2 separate regions of the Homo sapiens genome follow, and region 2 is linked to region 1. The links are contacts of gene promoters, found by promoter capture Hi-C in blood cells and fetal thymus (Javierre and others, 2016). All regions are on one chromosome and are shown on one strand. The core of a region is centred on a gene start or on the middle of the fragment in contact, and the rest is flanking DNA. Distances in the headings are between cores, read along the strand shown.

Region 1 (2,730 bases), core at 89-2,588:
TCCCGCCCCCTACTCAGTCTCTAATATTTATGGGTGTCATCTCCATCCTCTGAAGGTTTCTGGACCCCAAACTTAACCAAGAGGCAGAGCCTGAGACTGGGACAGAGAATAAGGGCACGGTCTAGAAAGCCTTCCCTCAACTTGAGGTCCACCTTAAGGCATGGGGCCCACCCTCACCCTCTCCCTGTCATCTAATAGTCCCAGGGGGAGCTGGGAGGTGAGTTACCTGAGGCTCAGTAGGGTTCAGGCTGGGTGCCAGGGACACTCCTAGGCCATCTCCTTGCTGCTTGAGTAAGGGAGAAATCCCCAGGCCTGCTGTGTCCCAGAGGAAGGAAAAATACACACGGTACTTTCCAGGGAGCCCTGCCTTTGTCCCAGGGACTCCAGGCTCTTTTTCTTGTCTGAGCCTCACCTGGCACCTGGCCCGAGACACTCCTGAGATGGGATTAAGCAAGGAGCAGGTGGAGGAGCCCAGGCTTCTCCCTCAGGAAGCAAGTGCTCACATCCAACAGAAGTACCTACATGCCGGCCTGAGCCAGGGCTAGGAGGTACCAGCCAGGATGTGGTCTCGAGGGCGAGTCCTCAGCTCAGATAAGGGAAGGCTGAGGACTGAGATGAAGACACCCAGAGTCTGGCTATTAGAGCACCTGGGGCCAGAGGGGGGTGGTTTCTAAGGGATCCAGGTGCTGGCTGATGCGGTAACTGGAGTAGGGGGCAGGCTGGGCTCAGGGTTCTCCAGGGGCACAGTGAGAGTCTCATCTGGGCAGTCAAGACACTCTCGATGGGCGCAGGGGGTCCAGGAGATCCTAGAAGGTCTAGGTGGGCTGAAATAAGCCTGGCCATAAAGAGAGAAATATGTTTGGATTTTATTTATCCCATTAATTTTTTTTTTCTCTTGACTTGATAACCCTATCCCATGTCTGGTAAACCCAGAGTAAGGAGTCCAAAAGCTGCTGGAGGAGGAGCTATGGGAGCCTCAGTCTCCTCTCTATGCCCCCTCCCTGTGCCCCAGTACAAACCTCCACAGCACCCCTGCAATGATAATGCTCACTGCCAGGACCCGTGTCCAGGGTCTCCCTCTTCAGCCTGAGAGACCACCGTCAGGCACAGCCTGCACCCTCCCGTGCACGGCCCCCACCCCTCCCCTGCTGGCCCACAGTGGAATCAGCCTCTCCGGTTTCTGGTGATTTCATCAGGGCCACATCACATTGCTAGAGCTAGAGATAACATCTCCCTGTGGGTAACCCTTCCCTGCCAAGCCCCCTGAAGCTGGGCCCAGGCTGAGAGGAGGGACTGTGGGGTGTGGAATAAATTTAGGGGTGTGAGGGTCTACCAGGCAGAAGCAGGTTGGCTGTGATGACAGCACAGAGCTCAGGAACGCTGCCTGAGGACCCTGGGGCCTACGAGGAGGAGAAGAGGGCAGGAGCTGGTGGGGTGCTTGCAGAGACCCTGGGCTCCTATCCTGCCATAAGCCTCGCTGTCTCCTGATATCTGCAGCCAGGCCCTACTGACACCCCCAGGCCTGAGTGCAAGCAGAGACCCCACCATTCCCAGGCCCTGGAGGACTGGTCCACCTTAACTGGGCAGCCCTTGGGGCAGGCGCTGGCCGGTGCCTCAGCCCAGGCCTCTGTGCTCTGCATGCACTGCCAGCCTGCCATCAGGCCTCTATTGCAGCCCTGAACCATGATCCAGGGCACCTTGGAGCCAGATGGTCCCCTCTGGGGCTGGGACTGGGACAGTGACAATGACTGGGATAGTGCTGTGCTGGCCCTCCTGGCGCTGGCTGTGGTGGCTGCCACAGCGCTGGCCTTACACTGGTTTGGCTCCGGGCACGATCAAGAGGCGGCAGAACCGGTGTCCACAGCCCTCGGGGCTCAACCTCATCAGGCAGGAGGAGCTGAGCTGGCCCTGCAACCGAAGTCTAAGGTCAGTGATGGCAGCGAGGGGCAGAGCCCAGGGCAGGGGAAACCAGAGCCCCCAGGACGCGGCCAGCAGAGCCCTGTCCCTGCTGCAGCGCCGGGCGGGGGCCTGGCCGCCATGGCCCGGCTTCCACTCAAGACGGCTGTCGAGGAGGCCCGCAGAGAGGCATTAGGACAGCAACGGGGCAGTGCCACCCCCGCGGCCCCCCGAGCGGAAGGAAAGGAGCCTCCCAGGCCAGGCACTGCCCTCCTGGGCAGGAGCGAAGCAGGGGGGATGTCCGCCCCCCTCCTGATCCACTTCACTCCTCGGAGCCCTGGCAGCGAAGCGGAGGCGGAGACAGGTGGTGTCAGGGCGTCCTCTCGCCAGGCCGCAGGCCCCGCGGGGCAACAGGACACTGGCCCCTGGCAGGCGGGCGCGGGGCCCTCGGGCTCGATGGGGAGAGGCCGGGGCCGGCGGCGGCGGATGGACGCTGGCTCGGGAGACAGAGCCCGCCGCCCCCGGAAACTGGACCCGCTCCGCCTGGGCGCCGCGGGGAGCGTGTGGGACGCGGTGGACGGGGCCGCCGCCCTGGACGCCCACGCGCGCGGCCTCCCCACAGGACCCCCACTCGCCCAGGAGCCCGCACTCCCGGCGCTGCCCGCTCCCCGCGCCCTGCAGCCTGGGTCTCAGACGGAAGGCTCTGGGGCCAAGGGTGGCTGGAGCAGGGAGGCCTCGGGGGTCCCTGCCCCCGGAGGAGGCTGGCCCTGGGTCAGCAGGGAGGTCCCGGGCACCCGGAGCTTTGGCCCAGCCCCAGACTCCACGCGCCCCTGG
Region 2 (2,715 bases), core at 26-2,525, 55 kb after region 1:
GGCAATACAGAGAGAGCCGGTCTCTCTCTCTCTCTTTTTTTTTTTTTGAGACGGAGTCTTGCTCTTGCCAGGCTGGAGTGCAGTGGCGCAATCTCGTCTCACTGCAACCTCCGCTTCCCGGGTTCAAATGATTCTCCTGGCTCAGCCTCCCAAGTCGCCGGGACTACAGGCGCCCGCCACCACGCCCGGCTAATTTTTTTGTATTTTTAGTAAAGACGGGGTTTCACCATGTTGGCCAGGATGGTCTCTGGTCTCGATCTCTTGACGTCGTGATCCACCCGCCTTGGCCTCTCAAAGTGGTGGGATTGCAGGCGTGAGCCACCGCGCCCAGCCACCGGTCTCTATTTTAGAAAGAAAAAAAGTGTCCTGCAGTCTCTCCCTAGTTCTGCGCCCTCAACCCTGATCTCCCGCCTCCTCCCACAGCCACCGTCTCGAGCTCAGCTTCAACCATGGCCCTCCCCACAGGGCTCCATCCCAAGCCAGAGCGGGTCAGTTCCCTACACAGGGCCCAGCAACACGGTGCCCAAGAAAAAGTGTTTCCAGTGGGACGCATGTCGCCTCCGTGGGTGCTAACTTCTCCCAGTGCCCGTCGGTACGTCCGTCCGGCTGTGCAGTCTCTACTGAGTGCTCAAAGTCCACTTTTAGCCCCAGCCAGCATCCTCTGAGTACCTTGTGCTCGATTCTGAATCCAGCCCTGCTCGGCGACCCTCGTGCAGACGTCCCCGTGCAGCCCCGGTCAGCACCCCGTGGGGACAGCTCCGATCAGCACCCGACGGCGGACAGCTCCTCCCGCGCCTCCCGCCTCGCCCGCCACCCCGCTCCGGGCCGCACCCGGGTTAGGGTTCCTGGGGGGATCCTGGGCGCGGCGGCGCAGCTCCCGGGGCCGCCCCGGCCTCTCGCCCAGAGGAAACAGCCCACGGCGAACCCGAGGCCCGCGGACCCCGGCGCTGCCTCCTCGGCCTCCCGCCCCGCGCGGGTCCTCCAGGGCGGGGCCCGACGCCCACCCGCCCGCCCCTTCCCTCCCGCCCCTCCCCGGGAAAAATCCTCATCGCACGCCCGGCCCTTCCCCAACCAGCGCCCGGCAGTGAAGCCGCCGCCTCTCCTCCAACCAGCGTCCCCGGCCGCGTCCCTCCCCCGCCTCCCCCGCCGCCCTCCCCGCGCCGCCGCGGAGTCCGGGCGAGGTGCGCGGGGCGGACGCCGCAGGGCGTGTCACGAGGTGAGCGGGGCGGGCCGAGCGCCGGCGCGGGGCGCGGCGAGGCTCCCGCACCCCCCGCCGCAGTCGCGGGCCTCTCCCGGAGAAGATGGCGGATCGCGCGGAGATGTTTTCTCTCTCCACCTTCCACTCGCTGTCGCCGCCGGGCTGCAGGTACCCCCCTCGGCGCCCGGGCCGGGCGGACCCTCCGCTCCCTGCGCACCCCCCCGACCCCGACCCGGCCCGGACCCCCGTCCCCGCCGCCCCAGCCCCGCCGCCGGCGCGGACCCGGCCCCGGCCCCCTGCGGTCCCTGAGCCTCGGCTCGGGCGCCCCACCCCCACCCCGCTCCCACTCCCTCCATCTTCACCGCGCGTCCCCAGCCTCAGTGACCCCCGGGCCCCGCCGGGATTCTGAGCCGCGCCCGGCCTGGACGGCTGACCTGTCAAGGGTGGAGGCCCTGGGCCGACCCTCTGCGGGGGAGGATGCGGGCGGGATGCGGGCACACCCTCCCGGCGCGGCGTGTCCCGGTGGCCTTGGCCTCTTTCAGTGGACGCCAGACCTGGCCGATAGGGCCCGGCCGGGAGAGAGTGGAAATCAAGCCCGGAGCCCTGCGGGAAGGGACTGGGGTTGGGAGGACGCTGGGCCTCTGGGTTTAGGCCTCACTCCGCCGGAGAGGGGGAGACAAACAGGCCAGACTCTCTTCCCAGAGCAGGAGCGACCCCTCCCCATCTGCCGCTGCCGCGTTGCAGCTCCCCCTCCCCTGCTCTGCAAGACCCTGACCCCAGGGGCCTGGAGCTGCGAGTGGAGGGAGGAGAGGCTGCTGGCTCTCCAGGGAGGCGGGGTGGGAGGGGTGGGGGCAGGGTTGGCTCCTCCGGGCAGGCCTGGCTCAGATGGGGGAGGGGATCCACAGGCGAGCAGAGCTTGGGGGTCAAGATGATGGCAGGATGTGTTCCGAGAGCTGGGGGCTGTGGAAACCACTGGGTGTAGGAGCTGACGCCTCCCTCTGCCCCTCCTCAGGGCCAGTTGCCAGGCAGGGAGTCCAGGGTTGGTGGCTCTCTGACCCTGGTCTCCTTTCCAGGCCTCCCCAGGACATAAGCCTGGAAGAATTTGACGACGAAGATCTGTCTGAGATCACTGATGACTGTGGCCTGGGCCTCAGCTACGACTCAGACCACTGTGAGAAGGTGGGAGAAGAGTTGGGGACACAGATCCAGCTCAAGGGAGGGCCTCATTAGGTTCTTCTTAGCGTTCACTTGGGGTTTTAGGGTGGGTGTGAGCTCAGCCTTGAACCGGGGACTCCTCTGATGGCTCCTCCCCACTTAACCCTTGAGGTTTCCTTGGTATCAACTCTCTCTTATTCCAACACATTGCAGGCCTCCACGCAGGGCCTTCCCCAGCATTCTCCCCGACCCCATCGGTGGCCAGCCCGGGGCAGGGAGGTGCTCCTTTGCTTTGGGTGCCCTCTGTCCTCAGATCACTCCCAGAAAGATCTAATCCCTGGCAGCTGCCATCACAACCTTGT

What was found. The method cuts DNA at HindIII sites, captures the fragments that hold promoters and counts their contacts. A CHiCAGO score of 5 or more calls a contact.
Region 2: a contact is called between the fragment with the promoter of MAPK8IP2 here and the fragment with the promoter of KLHDC7B in region 1, in 1 of 17 cell types (endothelial precursors). The highest score is 5.1, in endothelial precursors.

Annotation. Positions count from the first base shown.
Region 1 is chr22:50,544,561-50,547,290 of GRCh38, forward strand. It overlaps KLHDC7B (kelch domain containing 7B), which reads left to right and starts at 1,339. Exons shown (of 1, transcript NM_138433.5): 1 at 1,339-2,730. The coding sequence starts at 1,684. KLHDC7B-DT (KLHDC7B divergent transcript) reads right to left here. Exons shown (of 4, transcript NR_199716.1): 2 at 1,814-1,908; 3 at 227-835. The HindIII fragment of the contact is 20,060 bases long and covers 1-2,730 here.
Region 2 is chr22:50,599,518-50,602,232 of GRCh38, forward strand. MAPK8IP2 (mitogen-activated protein kinase 8 interacting protein 2) reads left to right here and starts at 1,276. Exons shown (of 12, transcript NM_012324.6): 1 at 1,276-1,366; 2 at 2,272-2,377. The coding sequence starts at 1,302. RefSeq lists a silencer at 686-865 and an enhancer at 1,655-2,155. The HindIII fragment of the contact is 20,896 bases long and covers 1-2,715 here.